Linked DNA regions of Homo sapiens: all the other regions are linked to region 2. The links are contacts of gene promoters, found by promoter capture Hi-C in blood cells and fetal thymus (Javierre and others, 2016). All regions are on one chromosome and are shown on one strand. The core of a region is centred on a gene start or on the middle of the fragment in contact, and the rest is flanking DNA. Distances in the headings are between cores, read along the strand shown.

Evidence for each region. Contacts are between HindIII fragments. The CHiCAGO score rates a contact against its expected background, and 5 or more counts as called.
Region 1: a fragment that was not itself captured here is called in contact with the fragment with the promoter of NINJ1 in region 2 in 1 of 17 cell types (neutrophils); the score reaches 7.7 in neutrophils.
Region 3: a fragment that was not itself captured here is called in contact with the fragment with the promoter of NINJ1 in region 2 in 1 of 17 cell types (monocytes); the score reaches 6.6 in monocytes.
Region 4: a contact is called between a fragment that was not itself captured here and the fragment with the promoter of NINJ1 in region 2, in 1 of 17 cell types (neutrophils). The highest score is 6.0, in neutrophils.

The regions. Positions count from the first base shown.
Region 1 is chr9:93,565,478-93,570,431 of GRCh38, reverse strand. FAM120A (family with sequence similarity 120 member A) reads right to left here. Exons shown (of 18, transcript NM_014612.5): 18 at 4,320-4,954. Among named protein-coding and RNA genes, the nearest start is that of PHF2, 8.6 kb to the left of the region's middle. RefSeq lists a silencer at 3,600-4,019. The HindIII fragment of the contact is 4,632 bases long and covers 829-4,954 here.
Region 2 is chr9:93,131,080-93,136,170 of GRCh38, reverse strand. It overlaps NINJ1 (ninjurin 1), which reads left to right and starts at 1,920. Exons shown (of 4, transcript NM_004148.4): 1 at 1,920-2,028. The coding sequence starts at 1,954. LOC124902212 (a long non-coding RNA gene) reads right to left here and starts at 3,159. Exons shown (of 3, transcript XR_007061665.1): 1 at 2,578-3,159. RefSeq lists enhancers at 610-1,206, 2,666-2,715, 4,197-4,794, 4,795-5,091 and silencers at 1,176-1,225, 1,726-1,955, 2,126-2,375. The HindIII fragment of the contact is 11,448 bases long and covers 1-5,091 here.
Region 3 is chr9:93,464,496-93,469,528 of GRCh38, reverse strand. All of the region lies in intron 1 of FAM120A (family with sequence similarity 120 member A), which reads right to left. Among named protein-coding and RNA genes, the nearest start is that of FAM120AOS, 13 kb to the right of the region's middle. RefSeq lists enhancers at 93-142, 223-282, 2,321-2,887. The HindIII fragment of the contact is 3,555 bases long and covers 857-4,411 here.
Region 4 is chr9:93,512,808-93,517,287 of GRCh38, reverse strand. FAM120A (family with sequence similarity 120 member A) reads right to left here. Exons shown (of 18, transcript NM_014612.5): 6 at 1,521-1,621; 7 at 1,019-1,305. Among named protein-coding and RNA genes, the nearest start is that of FAM120AOS, 61 kb to the right of the region's middle. The HindIII fragment of the contact is 4,022 bases long and covers 1-3,645 here.

The DNA.
Region 1 (4,954 bases), core at 1,895-4,394, 430 kb before region 2:
GAGGTTGGGTGTGTATTTGTGAAAGATCAGTTGATTTGGTCAGTGCATAGAAACTTCAAATACTGGGCCCCTTCTTGGAGTACCTGGGGAAATTTTTTAAGCCATCTGGGCTTTTCTGACAGGTATGAAAGTGACCCTCCTTCTTGACCATCTCTAGGATGGTCCTGTGATGTTTGGATGCAGTGAGCTTGTGGACAAGTCTCTGAGCCAGGTGACTACATTATTTACTACTATCCAAAAGGGTGCTGTTAATAAAGCACCAAAACAGGGGCAAACTGAGGCTATCCTGGGCAAACTGAGACTGATGTGACCCTCTCTATAGCCCATACTGGCATCAGTTGAGTTTGTAGAGATGGACATTCACAAATGCCAGGAGTAGGCATGGTTTCATGAGGTCAGGATGGGTCTGCACAGGTGCCTCCAGCTGTTTGCTTCCTGAACTGATGGAACTTGCTGGGCACAGCCTGGGAAAAGGCCATCCTGGGTGGCCATCCTGGTCCACCCAAGGTGCCTGGAATCTGCTTGGGTAGCTCCCACCTGCCCTCTAGGTCATTCTTCAGAGAGGCTTCCCTGACACCTTCCTCCTACCCCCACCCATGTAAGTTCCTCATTTCCTCTGCATTTGTCCTTCATAGAACTTATTACCACTGCTGTTGCATTTTTTTTTTCTTGAGTGCGTTTTCACATGGCTGTCCTTTACAAACTCTGGTGAAGTCCCACAGCCAGTTCAGCACAGGGCAAAGCACATTAATGAAAAGCTTATTTTGTCCCATGTGCAGGTCTTTGGTCAACTTAGCCTGGGCTGTGTTACAGCCAAGACTGGAAGCTTCCCTGGGGTACAGGGAGGAGTAACCAGACAGCTTGGGGACAAAGGTGGGGTGGATGAGGGCAGGGCTGCCAGGCTGGCCAGCAGCAGGCTCCTGGCAAAAAGGCCTCTGCACCATCTACTCCACAACGTGGGGAGCCAAGTAGCATAGGACTTTTGTCCAAGATATAGTGAGTAAGGGTAGGGAGTTGAGGCTAACAAGAAAGTATTGCATTCTCAGAAGAACTGAAAGTAGAATAAAACTGAGGGAGGGATGAGAGTCACCCCTAAGGTTACTGTCCATCATAAAACACCTGTATTCTGCTGTCTGCCCCATGCAGTGCAGAGGTAGGCTCCCTCTGAGCAGGGAGAAGGAATGCAGGGCAAGGAGGGGTGTCCTGGAAAGCAGAGCAGCCTAACACTACCTTGGTCCTTGTTGTTGATGGTATAGAGAAAGGTATAGACAGTGAATTATTTCTTAAAATTCTTACCTGATTGTTTGGGAGATCATAAAACAGCCAGGAGAGACATTAGAAGTTCCCTGTCAATTGAAAAATGAAGAAATTATGGGCAAATTAAATGTAAGAGGGGAAATGTTCACCCTCACTAGAAATCAAAGTCATGCAAATAAAAACCCATTTTTTAACCTGTCAAATTGGCAAACACCAGTGCCTTGACTGTGCCCAGCAGCCAGGCTAGTACAGACAAAGAGCTCCTGGACCCTGGATACCAAGCAGCGTTCCGGAGCTAAATCAGCAGGAGCACCAAAAGACTCCCTTCCCTCACCCTTCCCCCACCCTTCCCCCACCCTTCCCCACTGGGAGATTCTTCTGATGAAATGCTAACCAGGAATAATGACACTGGTCCTCACAAGACTCACCTACAGGGTAGCATGGATACCTGGAGCCCACTGGGCATCCAAGCACAACCCGTCCTGCCTCAAAGCCTTCAACAGACCACAGCACTGGAGGATACAGCAAGCCCTGTCCTCGGGGTGGCCATGGGCTTCTCCGCTCTCCATGGATTCCCCTTGGCTGGGTGCTCCATCCGCTGCTCCTGGCCCAGACCTGTATTCCCAGATAGCCTCCACTCATGGCTGCATCACTTGCCCATGCCACCCATCTCCCCATCTTTTCTCATTTTCTTGCTTGAAATATTCTTATTTGTACACATGTATGTTGTCCCCCTACTCAAATGTAAATGCCAGAAAGGCAGGGGCCTTGACATCTTCTGTCCCATGGGGCCTAGGGCTGGGCCTGACACGGACTCTCCGCAAGTGCTTGCAGAACAAGGTAATGTCCAACCATGCTGGTGGGGAAAGACTGAATACGTTACGATGCAGCCCCACCGTGGAGTCTGTGGAACTATGGCAGAATATGGAATGGTAGGGAAAGGCAATCATCAAATGATGCTAAGTTGGGAAAATGTTACAAAATATTAACATGATTTTTTTTGTATAAGAAAAAAATCTATATATTGTATAGAAGGAGAGAGACCAAATGTTAAAAACAGGTGTCTCAGGATGGGGGAATTACCGAGGACTTCTTTTCCTTTTTGTGTATCTAGCCAGTATTTCTTAAACTTACCACAATAAACACATATTGCTTTTGAAACAAGAAAAAAAAATCAGTAAAACCTATTTTTTTGAAAAGGAAGAGGATAAATGGCCAGGCAGCAGAACATACGACTTGCCCCAGGATATCATGCTGCCAGGAAGGAGAAACACCAGCATCACCATTCAGTCCAGCCCGCACCAGTGCCACCCACAGCCACTGACCCCTGGGCCCATGACAGCATCGCCCTTGGGCCTTCCTCTGCAATTCTGGTGGTGTGGAAGGAGTGGCCAGCATGGCTCCAGCAAGGAGGGATGTCCTTGGCCTCCTTGTTCCAGCCACAGGGTCGCCGGAGCCCCAGCACCCTCTCCCTTCCTCTCTCCTTAATGCCCACGCCTGCACCTACTGGAGCTTCAGGAGCGGGTGGACAGACCCAACTTGGAGCTAAGGGTTGGGTTCCAGCCCAGTCCCTGCTGAGAGTGACCTAAAGCAAGCTGTGCTGCTCTCTCACCTACAGCAATTGCAACTAAGAGATGAGAACCACCGGAAAGAAGGAGCACCTGCTTGTCAGGGAGCAGAGAGGGACCCTTGACATGCGCGCGCTCCTGCTGCTGAGACTGTACTGTTCAGAAACCTGTCCCTCTCCCCTCTTAAAGCCAGAGGGCTCTCCCTGTCAGTTTGCTATTCTCAAGTGGCGTGGGCCTGCCCCTTGAGAGAGGGAAGAAAAGCGCGTGGTTGTCACGGTGGGAGAGGTACTGCCTAGCAATGGATGGTGGAAGCTGGTGGGCCTGGAAAGTGTTCCTCCACAACGCTGTCCCTCTGCCAGGCACGTGCGATCCAGAGTGGGTTAGACTGGTTCCCGTCACAGGCAGGGTCCTCAGTGGAATGGTGTTTTTGAAAGATGGAGCGTCCGGGCGCCCCCATCTTCTCACAGCACAGAGAAGGGGCTGGCTGGCCCGCCACCGGGAGGCTGGCGCAGAGGGACTCAGCCGTGGCCCCGGAACAGCGGGCCACCGTCAGGAACCGGCGAGTCAGGGTGGGAAGAGGCCCTGGAGTGAGCGAGGCTAGCTTCACTTCCTTCAAACTCTGAAGGCCCACCCCATAAAAAGAAGGGGTAAATTCGTCTGGGGTCTGAACAGCCAGGACCAAGAGCGCTCTCAGGCTGCTAGTTGGAGAAACTGGCTCGGCTCGGGCCTTGCTGGGACTCGGGCTCCCAGGGTCTGCTCGGTCTCTCTCGGGGCACTCGGGTCTTTGCTGGGCCCGGCGCCGGCCCCGCACAGAGAACCGGCTTCAACGGCGCAGTCTCAGCCTCCGGGAGGAAAAAGCTGGGAGTAGGCCTCACTGACACGGCCCCGCCTCGCGGGCTGCGCGCGCACCGGGACCTGCGCGGTGGCGGACGGGGAAGCGCCACGCAAGGCCCCGCCCCGCCCTTCCACAGGAAGGAAACGCGCCCCCGGGCGAGCGCCAGCCCCTCCCTGGAGCGGGATCGCCGCAGCTCTCCTGGCCGCCTCCGGCGCCGTTAGCCCACCATCCCCCGCTAGAGGGCAGCACGGGGCGCTTTCTCCAGGCGCTCGGCGGACCTGGGTACGGGGACCTCATATCAGGCTGCAGAGAAGAGCCTTCAGTCAAAAGGATGGCATGAAAAACGGACTATACTTGTAACATCCAGCTTTTAAAACGTGGTGGAGTCAAATTTATTGCTTCCTCAGGGCTTAAAAAAACCTCTTCTGTAAGTCTGCTTTATCAAACAGAATTTTTTTATCCCCTTGGTTGCTTGAAACTGAGCTATCAAACAAATTAATCATATATTAATGTCCCTCTAAGCCGGAAACCTGGAATTACTTTGAAAAGGTAAAATATTTTTCAACTTTGGTTTTCTGATCTTTTCAGTAGTTGTTTCGATTTGAATTAAACCTCTATAAAATTAGCTTTTACAAGTGAATTTAAAAGCCACGCCATACTTTATACTAAAAGAATAAAGATTTTTATTAAGCATTGTAAGTTGCATTCAATAGCCTTCAGATACACCACACCACAATCCATCGACAGTCAATCAAACCCAACAGCAGTTCATTCTTGCACAATCCATGAGTTAGGGCAAAACTCCCTTCAACTTACAGTAAGATCCTACTTAGCTCTTGCGGGCAGGGGTTGGGGAATTACACCTCATTTCTGATCACTAATGTGATGAAGAGCATCAGAAGTATATGAAAACGATAAGAAGTGATTCTGATTTCAAAGTACATTGTTTGGAAACATTAACAAAAACATCAAAATGATAGAAGTATACCTGCTTCTACTAAATTCTTGATGGGAAAGTTCTCAAGAACAAGCAATTTGTTTCCTGCTACAGAAGGGGGGGGTGGTTTTTTTTTTTTTAAGATCAAAGGGTTTTTTTTCACAGAATTTCATATTTGCTAATATGAAGGCATAAAACAGCAACAAAGAACAATAATGCATACAGCAGTGAATACACCAGGGTAATGTTGATATTCGAAACGGCTAGATAATTTTTGGGGGGCTTTAGAATAAATGCAACAGAGGTCAATAATCACAAAATTTTAAGGTTAGAGCAAGATCAGTCAATGACTAAACA
Region 2 (5,091 bases), core at 671-3,170:
GAGGCTGGGAGAGGGTCTCAGACGGCCAGCACAGAGCAGGTTTACAAACCCCGAGGCTGATGTCCCAACTGTCACTGGTGCTGCGACCCTCCCGGCTTCCTCTTAGAAGGTGGGAATGGGGCCAGGCGCAGTGGCTCATGCCTGTAATCCTAGCACTTTAGGAGGCTGAGGCGGGCAGATCACCTGAGGTCAGGAGGTGATCTGGCCAACATGGTGAAATTCTGTCTCTACCAAAAATACAAAAATTAGCCGGGCGTGGTGGCGCACACCTGTAGTCCCAGCTACTCAGGAGGCTGAGGCAGGAGAACGGTGTGAACCCGGGAGGTGGAGCTTGCAGTGAGCCAAGATCGCACCACTACACTCTAGCATGGGCGACAGAGCAAGACTCCATCTCAAAAAAAAAAAAAAAAAAGGATGGGAATGATGAACCACACTGCAGGAGCTCCCACATGGCACAAAGGAAAGAATACTCTCAGGACGGGGTCTCCACCTGCCAAGCCCTCCTACTTCGGGGCCTCTCTACACGCCCTTGGCCTTCCAAGGTCTCAGGGCTCCCCTGCAGCTCCCAGGGCCCTTTCTGGGTGTGACGTATTTTCTCTGTGGTCCCACACCTCCTGCCCCTCCAGGAATTGAGCCCTCGTGGGCAGGCACTATCCCCCAGAATAGGGATTTGTCCCATACTGTGAGAGAGTTTTTTGTGTGAATGGTGCTGGATTTCCAGCTGCTGGTGAACACTCAGGTGTGCCAACAGTGCCCTGATTATGCGAGGACAACAGCAACCATCCCCGTCGTGGGCCACCGTGCCAGACCCTGTCCTGCAGATCCCCTCTGAGGCAGAGCTGGGGCAGTGACAGCCTGAGCCTCAGTTTCTCTGCTGTGAAGTGGGCCCACGACAGCTCCTCCTTCATGGGATGACCCCGTTTGGAGGATCAGGGCAAGCGCAATCCTGCTGCCCTGCCCATGCCCACTCACTCCTACCTCCTGTCCCGGTGGCAGCCTGACTGGACAGAGCCTGGGGTCTGAGCTGGCCTTCCTTCCACTGCCCTTCTGGAAATAGAGTGGCCATACTGCCGCAAGCTGACTATGCTGTGGTCAGGATGAACTCCCCTGGCCTCCCAGGGTGGCCGCCACATGCTCTCGACCCCCAGGCCCCCAGATGGGCAAAGTGCTGAGGAATGAACATATGGAGAAACAGAGACCAAACAACCACTTCAATCATACAACAGGTGGGGGCCCGCCTAGCATCTGGCCAGGGCTCTGGGCACTGTGCTGCCCCCAGCCCACCCCCTGCCACAGGTGGCACAGATGGGCCCATGAGTCAGCGCACGTTCATCCCCTTTGTGCCTCCCCCAGCCCCTCCAGCAGTCTGTGCCCTCATAACCCCCATTTCCCAGGCAGGAAAACCTAAGGTCAGGGAGTGGGAAGCCCTGTGTCAGCGTGGCCCGCAATCAGGGGAACCCCGGACTCTCTGACGCTGTTACTAGGGGCGCAGCAGGCGCTGTGCTGGAGCGATCTGCGGTTCCCAGGGCGAACCCCGCCTGGGAAAAACCCAGCGTGGGCGCCAGCGGCAACGCCCGCTCGCTTTCATGCAGTTTGCCTGGTGGCCAGGGAAAGGTCGTTCTTGGCCTCATTTTGTGGATTAAAAGTGTCCGCGACGGAGGTTCAGAGCAAGACGCAGCGCAGGGTCCTCTGGGGCCATCGGCGTCGCGCCCCCTCCCTTGTGGGGCCCCGCGGGACCGTCTCAGGCCCGAGGGGTTGGGGTCGCCCCAAACTGCGCGCTCTCAGCGTACAGCCTCCAGGCCCCGGGCCCGCCCCGGGTGGAGGCGGAGTCTGGGGCAGCAGCTCGCCGCCGGGCGGGCCGGGGGCGGGCCGGGGGCGGGCGCGCAGCTGGAGCCTGCGGCTGAGGCTCGGGCGCGCTCAGGCCCGGATCCTGGCGGCCTGGGCGGCCGCACCATGGACTCGGGAACCGAGGAGTACGAGCTCAACGGCGGCCTGCCTCCGGGCACACCCGGCTCCCCGGACGCCTCGGTAAGACCTTCCCCCCACCGCTGCATGATCTTGCCAGGCCCTGTCCTTTCGGGGCGCCGCGGCTCCCCGGGCACCTGTGTGCGCCGCGTCCGCACTGCAGAGTGTTGGGGGACGTCCCGCTCTAGGCCAAGTCCTTCCCGCCCCATCAGGGTCAGAACGATGCCCCCGGGAGCTCCAGCCACCCCCGGCAAGTGGGCGGGACGAGGGGGCGTGGGGGCGCAGGGCGGGCTGGCGTCCCCAGCCCCACTAAGCAGCGCCCGCGCTTGGCTGCACGGCGGAGGGGGCCTCGGCGCAGCTCCTCGGGCTAAGGACTGCCGGCGCCCGGCTTTCCCGACCTCCCCCCCACTCTCGCGCGGGCCTCTCTAACTTCAGCCTCGCCGTGCCGGCTCCTCCGCGCACTTTGCCCGGAGGCGGGCGGAGGGGAGTCACAGCCTCCGGGCTCCAGACCAGCTGCATGCAGACAGTTACGTCACCCCACGCTGACCACACAATCTGATGCGTGCCTTGATGGGGGAACTTGGGGCCCGCTGTGGTCCCTATTCCACTCACCTGCCTTGAGAAATAGAAACGTCACACAGCCTTCAGTGTATGCCGCCACCGGCCCTCCAGAACTTGCCCTGCCCGGCCTGGGAGGGCTGTGGGCAGGGGGCAGGCCCTGGTAGTGGTCCCGCTTCAGAATTCTTCATCCCAGGACTCAGCACTTACTGAGCACCTTGTGTTTGTTGCAAGGTCCTGGCATGGCCCTCTGGTGACTTGTTTACTTTGAACATTCTTTCCTTTTCTAACCCCCTCAGGGATGGGGGCAGGGAACAGCAGCCTGTTGGGTTTTTCCAGGCCTCTCCATGGCGTGGACCAGACTGGGGCAAAGACACTCTGCCCACTCGCTGGTGAACAGTCCTAGGCCGGTGCTGTGGGGACAGGACATGTTCGGGGAGGCGGGGCCCCATGAGCCACGGGATAGGATGGCCCTGGGGCTGCATGGACACTTGTTCCTAGGTTAGAGAGGAGCTGTCGCACTGCAGGACTTGACCGGTGTGCGGGACCCCAGCGACCTGGCCCTGCCCCAGTGTGTGAGCACTTTGGAGCAATAGGCAGGGGGCTCCTCCGGCTGTGTGTCCTTGGGAAGTTGCCACACCTCGCTGGGCCTTTTAGACATGGTCTTATAAAGAGAGAACAAAGGGTCTCTCCTGCCTTCAGGGAAGTGGGGAAAGCAAGTCAGGTAATAAACAGGTCAGTGGCTTGGAAGCGCCTTGGAAAGGAAGGGATACTGCTCCTCCCCCAACCCTGACCTTGCCCGGGCAATGCCCTCCACTCAGAGCAGTCTCTGCTCACTTCTGCGGGCGGCAGGATAGGCTGTGCCTCCTGAGATGGGTGCATCTCAAGCCCAGAGGAGATTGGGTTGGATTTGTTCCCGGATCACTGTCTTGGCTCTGGGCACCAGAGGGAGAGAGACACAGCCCCGCCCCACCAAGCCGCGGTTGGAGAGCAGCCCAGCCCAGACAGGGCAGGAGAGGCCAGGGCAAAGCAGGGGGTTCCCTGGGGGCTGGGAGCCCATCGTGGGGGGCGGGGCATGGTGGTCAGGGAAGGCTTTCTGTGGAGGTGGGGACATTGGCTCTGAGCCCTGGAGGGCAGGGAAGGTGGGTGAGCAGATCTGGCTCTCTGAGATGTGTGGAAGGGCATCTAGGCAGAGGGAACAGTGGGAGCAAAGGCTCAGAGGCTGGACCACAGAGCACATGAGGGCCAGGTAGGAGGTGGGGGGATGGGAAGCCAGGCCGATGGGAGGGGCCTTGCAGGCCTGATCACGGTCTGGTGTCCAGGGAGCTGTGGAAAGGCTATGAGCCAGTGTGAGGATGAGCACATTTCCCCTTGAGGGGTAGAAAACTTCGAGGGCCGCTCTGCTCACCCAGCCTGGGGGCCCAGGACCACCCAACACACCTGTTCCTCTTCCCAACCTCAAGACCTTGCTTCTCCGTTTCTTGGGCACATCATGTCAGCACTCTGTGCCTCAGTTTCTCATCTGTGAAATGGGTGTGGTCGCGGTGCCTGCCATAGAGAGTGGTGAGGACTCAGTAGCTGATGTATATGAAGTGCTTAGAGCCAGGCCAGCACTCAGCGCCCTCATCCTTCTGCCTGCCACGGAGACCCTCTCCCACTGGTGACCCCTGGCAGTGGTTTGGAGAGGGCAGCGCTTTGCCCAGCTCCCTCAGTTTCCTTTTCTGTAAAATGGAGAGTCTCAGTTTCCTTTTCTGTAAAATGGGGCACAACTGCTCACCTCCCAGGGTGGACAAGGCTCAGGGAGGAGCCACACGTGGAACTCCAACCTGGGTGGGCTCTGTTGGGCCACGGCCGTGGGAAGCTCTCAGGTCTCCCCTACCCCGTGTGCCCTGCGCCCCTGTGGCCCTTCATGTGAGGGCCCCCATCAGTGTCCAGGGATTGAGTCAGCTCACTTGTGGCTGTCAGCAGAAGGAATAGTAAACAACAATGTTAATGTGAAAATGGCCTGAATCTGTTATCCCCAGGGTGTCTCAAGGCAGGGAGGTGGTGGGGATGGGGTTAGGACACGGCCATCTGGTGCCAGCCACACCTTCCTGCCCCTCACAGCCCGCAGGTTGAAGGTTCCTGGGGCCACATCTGGGCCGAGAGGCATGGTCCTTGGAGGTAGGTAGCTGTGCCCTGTATACCTGCCGTCTGGGCCGTGCATGGCCTCAGCTGCCCAGGAGGAGGTTTGCTCGTTTCCTCATTTCCGCTTTCCTGGCAGATCCTGAGGCCGGCAGGGTCTGGGCCAAGTTCTAAAAGGCAACCCTAACATGGTCTCAGGGCCACTCGTGGCCAGTGCTGAGTCCGCGGGAAGTGGGTCTGCCTGGCCCAGCTGTGGTGGGAACCCCGCCTTCCAGCACTTCCTGCTGTCTTGCTGGGGTTTCCTGCCAGGAACACAGACATGGAGCTGGGAGACCCTCTCAGGGCCTGCTTCCTGGGCTGGCCGGTAGGAGACGGTGCAGGGCTCCAGTGCCAGGCCCTGCCTGTCTGTGTGGCATCTGGGGAATGGGCACAGCAGCTCATGCC
Region 3 (5,033 bases), core at 1,385-3,884, 330 kb before region 2:
TTTACATTTACAGTGATTTTTAAACTATTTTAAAATCATTAGAAATTACTGGCTTTTTTCCAGACATCTTTAATAGTTAAGTCTGTACACTCTATTAAGAGACACGAAAATGAAAGGAGACAGTAAGTGACCACTCCCTTCTTGGCTCACCCTCCTTCACTCCTCCAAGGAGATCTAGAAAAGTCAGCTTGTTCCTTAGATTCACACATGTTGGGAAGGAAGCTGGGCAGAACTAAAACAGAGGCTAAAAGGAGGTGAGAGCCCAGCCCTGCCCACCTCCATCAGCAGGGAGTTCAGAGACAGCCAGCACTCATCTCCCAGCTTCACAGGGTGGTGAACAATGCCTGGGTGAGAAGGGGCTGCTGGCCCACGGTGGAAGCAAAGCCATCTCACAAGAAGAGGCTTTCTAACCAAGACCTGAAAGGAGGGGCTGGCCCTGGGCAGGACCTCCAAGGAAGAGTATCCATGCAGCATGGGCAGGGGACCTAGAAAGGTCAGGAAATGAGCCTGGCCTGTTGCCTGGGCAGAGGGACCCACTGTGTTCCAATCCTGGGATCAAGAGGAAAAGCGGGGGATGATGAAGTCTGAGAGTAGCAGGGATCAGGTCTAATCTGGCAGCTTTCAAGTAATGCTGTCAGTATTGTAAAACAGCAGGCAATATATTTCAAGAGCTGTAAAACGTTCACACTCTTTAACCCGGTAACCTCACTCCAGGAAATAGAGCCTAAGAAACTAATTCACTAAATAAAAAACATTAGAAGCATAAAAAGGATCACGGTAGACTCCTAAGGGAAAAAAATAAATTACGGAGATAGACACAGCCACTACGCTGTACTGTGGAGAAACAGAAAAAGCTTAGGATAAAGTATTAAACAAAAGCATTTCAGAATACAATATCATATATACCCAACTATGTAAAACTTTGTGGTAAAAGGCTGGAAAGAAAAAGGCAAAGGTCAACATAGTTGTAATCAGAGTGGTGGAATTATGCCTTAAAAATCCTCTTTTAAAAGAAAAAAACCTAATGAAAAGCTGAAGAAGTACTATTATAAACCATACCTACACTCTGGTCACCTCTCTGCTACAGCACTTTGGACAAACTACCGTTCTTTTACATATATGTCTCTCCAACAGGACAAGGGGCACAGCTTACGCATCTTCACGTCAAGGGTCTAGCTTGGTGCTGGCAGCCAGCAAGCACCAAAAAAAATTAAAAACTGCCCCAGTTTGGTGTTGCATTTCATGGTTCCCCAAAGATTCCTTAAATTAGCAAATTAAAACTAGTAAGATACAGTCTATCCAGTACAGGCCAATATGCAGTAGAACCTCATAAAACAAAGGTGGTAGCCGGGCGCAGTGGCTCACACCTGTAATCCCAGCACTTTGGGAGGCTAAGGTGGGTGATCACCTGAGGTCAAGGAGTGTGAGACTAGCCTGGCCAAAATGGTGAAACCCCGACTCTACTAAAAATACAAAAAAATTAGCCAGGCGTGGTGGCGGGCGCCTATAATCCCAGCTACCCGGGAGGCTGAGGCAGGAGAATCTCTTGAACCTGGGAGGCAGAGGTTGCAGTGAGTCAAGATCACACCACTGCACTCCAGCCTGGGCGACAAGAGCGAAACTCCGTCTCAAAAAAAAAAGAAACCAAAAAAAATACAAAAAAACAAAGGTGGCATGTGGGGCTTTTCATAATTACCTCCTTCCTCCACCCATAACAGAATTACCTATTCACTGAGAACACTTGACTTTAGATTGGCATTAAAAAGCAAACAATAATTCAGTACAACTCTAATTTGCAAATGATTAACCATACCATAATCCTTCCCAAAACCAGACAGAGCATTAAACAAACATCTGACTGCTAGAATTTGTGTCCTAAAACAAAAGATAAAGGACCACACCCATGAACACAGCTTCACACCTGCAGCAAAGGTAGGACCACTCCCAACCTGGCCTCAGTCCATCTTTCCTATCCCAAGTCTCCTGAGTAAAGAGGGTCGGGGGGAGGGAAATCGGAGTCTACGCTCCAGCTCTGCCCCAGATACCCAACCTGCCAGGACAACCTCCCCAACAACCAATGTAAAATCTCAGATCTCTACATTCCTTCAACTTCTAAAATTCTAGAACTCTTCCCTCTCGTTAAAATTAATTGTGCTTTTATCTGAGGAAATGCAACCTGGCATTAAAAACCACAAGAGTAACAGAGAGGATGTCCTTTTCCATGGGTGAATAATGGAAGTGTGGTTCCACAGTTATTCAATGGGGGAAAAGGGGGGGGGGGGTGACAGCAGATCTGGCAAAGAAAATCACAAAAAACTCTGAATGAAAGAGTTCAAAGTCGATTGCCTAGGGGTGGTAGCAACAAGATGACTCAGCATTTGTCGAAACTCATACAATTGTACATCACACAGAATAAACTTTAATGTATGCAAATGAAAAAACAAATCAACCTGGGTGTCAGGGGATGCCAGGATAGAATGCAGACTGACAAATCTATAAAATTGTATTATAAAATGTATGAAATAGCCTCACTGAAACTGGTTGGGGAAAAGGAACTGCCTGAGTACCTGGGAAACAGTGCACTCGACTTGTGTAAGTATGCCTCCCAGAATCTGTGTTAACAATTCTGAAATTACTTTGCAGGAACACTAGGGTTAAAGCAAATGCCGTATGAGCCAGGTCCTCACTGTCAGAGAAAGAAACTACAAATAATCATGCAAAAGGAGAAGGCTAGAATGAACCTCATGGTGCTGCATTAGCCATGAGACATCAGTGAGAACCGGTGTTCAGGTGAAAATACACACATAGGTGGGTACAGAAACAATGGAAGATCTGGTGTTCACACAGATCTCCTTACACGGACCCCCAAGCAGCAGTAGCACCTGTAGCTGTCAGCTATGAGGGCCTAGACACAGAGACACCCCAGCAGCAGGACCCCACCAGTGCCCAGACCAAGGTTTCCAGGCACCTTCTCCATAACAAAGAACCGGGGCTTCTCTTTGGAAACAGCTGACACTGGAGCAGGAAAACACAAGGTGCACCTAAAGCATCTCGTAGGTCCAGAAAGCAAGGAAGCACTCCCAAAACAAAAGGATGGCATGTGTCACACGGGCCAACCCAAGAGAGCTCCCAAAGCCAGAGCCAGGACAATGCAAGCAAGGATAAGGCAGAACTGGATATAACCCCAAATGAATTAGTTATGACCCTATAAAAAGAGGACAGGAGCCCATAATGATATAAATAAATGATTAAATGAAGGGGGAAGAGACACATTTTCCCTACAGAAGAATTCAAATAATACCATACAATTTTCCCCCCAGTAGGTAGAGTTTAACCCTATCCCCTTTGAATGTGGACTGGACTCATCTACTGCTTCCAAAGTATGAGGATGTTATAAATAAGCGAAAGGAAAACTGGTCACTGCAGAGCAAACACCCACAGAGAGCTCCTTACCCAAGCAACCAAGGTCAGCGTCATCCAGTGCTAAGCCGAGTCAATGCCACGTGCCATGTGGGGTGCTGAGAAGCGCCCTGCACCTCTGGGCTATTCTTTTCCCAAACACACAGCCATAATTTAATATAGAGAAAGCATCAGACAAACCCAAATCGGGGACATTCTATAAAACACCTGATTAGTACTCCTCAGAAGTGTCAAGATCACCAAAGACAAACAGAAAAGCTGCCCCAGAAGACAGGGGATGGAGGACACTAGAGGTCCTGACCAGGGTCCCGGAACAGAAAAGGACACTGGTGGGAAACAGATGAAATCCAAATGAAGTCCATAATGAAGTTCACAGTAGTCTACCAAGGGTATTTTCTTGGTTTAGATCACTGTGCCAGCTAGCAGGAAGTGAACATTCCCTGGAAGCTGAGTGAGGGATATTTGGGAAGTCTGTACTATCTTTGTAAATTTTCTATAAAATTATTCCAAATAAGTTTATTTTTCTAAAAAAAAAGAGTCAATATTCTAGAAGACAATACATCAGCTGAAAGACTATTTCAAACCACTTTATTAGATGAACAAAGTATAACAGGCACGTGAAAAATAAATCCTGGCCTAAAGGCAAGTTTCAAAAAGCCTATTATATAAAAACAGAAATCTTCCCACAGGTAGTCCAGTTGAAAGAAACAAGAAAACCTACAAAGTATGGAATTTGGTTACCAATTAATTTATGAGTGAATAAATGCAGTCAAACTACTAAGAATATTCGTAAGAGGCCCAATAAACAATTCCTTAAGATTTAAGTCAAGGAAAGCCTGGTTAAAAATCTGATCAAGGATATGAGCAGGGGTAAAAAGACAATACAATGCAAGGTTTGGGTGGGAATGGAAAAAAGATTCTGGGTTGCATCAAAATAACTTACAAGGCAGTTATTTAATTAAGAATAAACGTTAAGTACTGGGCTGAAGCTTTGGTCTGACAGACTTGAGCTCCCCTGCTGTTCATCTGGTCTTCTGAAGCTCCTTCCTGTTTTCCCTTCTCCTATACTAAGCTACTCTCTCACTCTTATTTATCTGCTTCTTCTCTTCCCTGGCCTTCCAATGCCTGGCTTGGACTGGGCATAATACAATGAAATGTGTACTTCTAGTTCTTAATGTTAATTTCAGAAGTGGGTTAAAACTATTAAACGCAATGTTCAGATTATTTGATTTTGAACCCCCTCGAAGAACAAAATGACGTAAAAAATTAAGCCCTGAAAACACTTACTTACAGGTAGCCCTTCAAAGGGGGTAAAGTCATCCACCAGAGGTAAATCAGACTTCGAACTATGAGCTGCCTCCTTGCTGAAAGTCCCAGGCTAGTAGCCACTGAAAGTATCTGCCATTTTAAAAGCACCAGGCCTTGATTAATTTTTGTCATGGCTACCATTTCCACTCTATCAAAATGCAGGCTTCAAGATCAAGGAAGTGAAACTCTAAAACTCCTTCTGTAAACAACCCCGAGGAGCATTAGGCTTCAGCTCTTGTGAAGTGATGAGGGGGCTAGTGTCCAATACAACACTCTAACCTGGGGCAGCCAGGATGGGAATCACA
Region 4 (4,480 bases), core at 385-2,884, 380 kb before region 2:
TAAACATTTATTAATTTTATACTTCTCTGCACATACAACAAATCAACATTTATTAATGTTATACTTCTCTGCTATAAACAGGGTATGCATCCCTGGATGGCAGAGAGTCCTTCAGTAAGCTCTGCCCTGGGTCAACAGACATTTATTCCCATTTCACAGATGGACAGAGGACAGAGAGGAAAAGATCACCTGCTTCAGGTGACACACAAGGTAAGAACTGGCATGGAAGCTGACACCTATGTCTCTTACATTTCCTACATCAGAAACAGATGTAACATCAACCAGCCCTGGTTATCTGCGCTGTAAAGTAGAGTTCACACCAAGGAAAAGGAGACACTGACTTAAAGAAAAGAAATATTCTTTCCCTGTTTTTTTTGTTTTAAACATAAGACAATTTAAAGAAAGGGAGGAGTGCAAATTAAAGATTTCCTCGATCAAATTTTAACCAACTATGTATTTGTGAACCCATTTATTCAGGGACACACAGTGTTTAAAATACTCCTCTAAGGAAACAATTCCAGCCTGGGTCTAGGCAGCTTTCTAGGGTTTTGCTTGGGCAAACAGTGTTATTTCCAAAGTGTCCTGTAACCTGCTGAGTTTAGGAGAAGGAGAGGAAATTCAGAGCTCCCTTGATCCAGGAGCCAGAAGATTAATGTTTCGGGGGTCGGCAGGGGGTTGCTGTGACGGGTGTGAGTGGCACCACACCGGACAAATGCCCCCATGTTTTGGTCATCACACAAACCAGTTCTTGTCAAATTCCTCCCCAGAAAGTTTCCTGTGGCTCCAGGCCATGGGGCTGGGATAGTGCAGATTTTAAATCATGGAAACTTCAAGAACATACCTACTCTTCCTCTCTCCTCTCTGTCCAAGGAGCCCCCATCTGAGTACAGACTGACCATCACCCACCTGCAATAAACTACATCTCTGAGCAAAACACCAGCTGGGCTGGCAGGCCAGAAGGCAGCTTCCCCAGGTCACTACCCGCCAGGAAGCACCCAGCGACCCACGCACCACTCACTTTGTCGCCCCTCCGCTGCCCTCGTCGTTGTCGGAAGATGACGATGTAGAAGAGCCAGGGAAGTAGGCGGAATCCACGTGGTTGGGGCTGCCGCTCTGGGCCGGGTTGATGGGCGAGGACCGCTCATACAGCGGCGTGTGCTTCCCTTCGTGAGGAATGTTGCTGTAGCTGTTCTGCTCCGTCAGATTCTTCCCGCTCGTGTCCAAAGTGAGAGGTGCTGGCTCAGAGAGGCTGTACGGGTATGGACCCTGGCCCGGGGCGCCCCCTGGGCTGGGCACCTGTGGGGCCTGAAGCGAAGGGCACAGGTCACGCACACGTGGCCAGCAGGACCCGACTCAGGCCCAGGCTGACGTTTCCTGGCTCATTTTTATTTCAACAAACACTGGCATCTATTTCACGTATCAATTCAAGAGGTTAGGAACTTATTTTAGCATTCGTTGAAATTCAATGCACGCACCCTGTCTGAGACCCGCCACCCGACCCAACGCAGGGAAGGCCTTACCACGGGCTTTGCTTGCAGAGAGGTCTGCGGAATGTTGAGCATCTGAGGAGGAACATGCGGCGGCACCATCCCAGGCATTCCAAACGGACCGGGTCTGGCTGCTTCACCAACACAGAAAGAAAAGAATCACACAGCTGTGAACAGAATGCGTTTTCCAGGGCATCCTGGGGGCCAGCCCATGGCGCCAGGGATCTCACCCTCACCTGGCTCAGACATCGACACCACCATGGGTCCCACTTCTCAGAAATCATTACAAATTGCCATTTCACAGTAAGGAAAACTTAATTTTATGATGCTCCATTTGATGGACTCGGGCTGGGATTCTAACTTTCCAGATTTCTCAGTGAACTTGCCATAGTGGTTCTGCTCTCGTGTACTTCCTGAGGGCCTCGGCTGTCCCTCTGCCTGCAACTTGGTGGGGATTCTCTGTAACTCAGTCTCCCTGCTCAGGGCTGCTCCTAGCCTGAGGTCTCCGTGAAACCAGAAGCCCTGGCAGGCATGAAAGGAACAAAGTCGGACCGAACAGTTTCCTTTACCTTTGTCAAGCAAGAGGACTTTTCTATTTAAAGTACATTGCAACTACCATTAGGTTCTCAGCTAACTAGTGAGTTTTTAAATATAAAAGGAATTGCTTTTCATTGTTCAGCAATTAGGTTACACATTTTAACACATATACAGGATGAGTAATTTGTGATTCTGTGTTCTCTTAAAACATAATTTCATAAACCTGCCTGATGTGTGCTGCCATGTGCTAGTCATCATTCCCACGCTACCTTGCAAAAATGAAGAAATCTGTGAGAGGACTGAAAGCCACATAGAGGAATGGCTGAAGCAGGACAGCAGGACATGGAACCAGGCCAGCCTGAAGCTGGGACAGAAGGCAGGGGCTGGAAGCCTCCCCACTCAACCTCTGGCCTCGCGCGGCCTAACTAAGCACAGGAAGAGAGCTCAGGGGCCACGTCAGCCAACAGAAGTGAATGAGTGAGTAGATGGTGCCCATAAAGGGCTGTTCCAGAGACAGCACAAGACCCGCAGTAACAAGGACCGACTGGGGCCCAAATGATATGCAGGAAGCAGGAGGACATGGGACATGGACCTCTAGGAGCTGCACTCCCTCTCAGAACACTTAGGTGCTGAGGGCCTATGATGTGTCAAGCTGAGGACTGGGCCTGGGGATGAAAGGAGCCCTGAGGCGGTTTAAGTAAGATGCACACTGCTGAAGACACAGAGAAAATAGAAAACCTGTGTGAGACACAACAGATCCACCAGGGGCTTGCACGGCTGCACCATCTCTTCCTTGGGTTTGTTTTAAATGTGGAAGAAAACCAAGCCCAGAGCTTGCTGACTCCAATTTCCCTCTTTAAGCAGTAGATATGCTTCTACAACCTCTTCATCTGAACACCAGTTGATATGGTTAGGCTGCACATCCCCACCCAAATCTCATCTTGAATTATAATCCCCATAATCCCCACGTGTCTAGGCAGAGAGACTAGGTGGAGGTAATTGGATCATAGGGGCAGTTTCTCCCATGTTCTTCTAATGATAGTGAATGAGTTCTCACAAGATCTGATGGTTGTATAAGGGGCTCTTCCCCCTTCACTCGACACTTCTTACCGCTGCCTTGTTAAGAAGGTGCCTTGCTTCCCCTTCAACTTCTGCCATGATGCTAAGTTTCCTGAGGCCTCCCCAGCCATGCTGAACTGTGAGTCAATTAAACCTCTTTCCTTCATAAATTATCCAGTCTCAGGCAGTTCTTTATAGCAGTATGAAATCAGAGGAAAACACCAGGCAAGGGGAACACAACCCAAGAACCACCACCTCTCACACTGCCTACTGCCAATATAGGTAAGGACAGAAACATTCCCCAAACCTTCACTCTCGTTCTCTGAAAAGCAAATGTCCATGGCTGCATTCACAAGAGGTTCCCTAAGCCAACACTGGGCGTGGTGAGACCAGGAGTGCAAACGCTGTCCTTGGTCCGGCCTCCTGAGAGCCAAGCATGGTCAACAGACGCTGGGAGTGAAGCACAGATCATTGTTGACTCCCCCCAGAGAACGACCAGGAATCTTACAGACTACAATTTATCTGAGGTTCCTGCCTTCCAAGGGCCTTCAGCTCGCAAGCTTTAAACACCATAGCCCTTCGATCCTGGCTCGCATCAAGAAAAAACCTTGGCAGAGCTTCCACCTTTGTACCAAACAAAAACAACTGCAGTATGAGAAGCTGGGAATAATGAGACTGGCATGTGTGTAGTCACAGACACCTCACACTTGCATGCAACACGCACATAGACACACGTGCACACAACACATTCCTAACTGACCGATAAGTCCACAAGTCCGTGCCTCTAAGGGATGTGTGTGCATGATCAAGTGGTCACTCACACACAGGCGTAGATACACACAGAAGTGCACACAAACACACCCCACACGTGCATGCATGGCGCACACACACGCATGGCACAGACAATACAAGGAGCTGTTCCTAAAACAGTATGTTGGCTAGATCTGCACCTCCACGTGTGCGATCAAAGTCGCTATTATTTTAAAAAACTGTTCACAGGTGATTCTGATAGGCAGGTTTGGTCCAAAGAATATTATAAAATCTATTCAAGCTCCAACCATATAATTTAAATCAATGTAAAATGTCTAGTGTATAATATCTTGTGGCTGACCTCACTTACCTAACTTTGGAATAATACAAATCTAAGGCTAGACTCATGTAGCACCCGCATTCAAGTGAAGATGATCATTTTTGTTTTTTGATTTTTGGCCATTTCATCCTAAAACCTTCCTTGAAAGCACAAACTTTCCTTTAAAGCAAACAAACAAACTACATTACAGCATAAAACCAAAGAATTCCAAGGAAAGAATATTTTCTAAAATCACATTCCAATCATTGACCTCAAATAATCCTCTGTGAATCCACAGAGCAAGCCACTATTCTATTAAAGCAGTCCA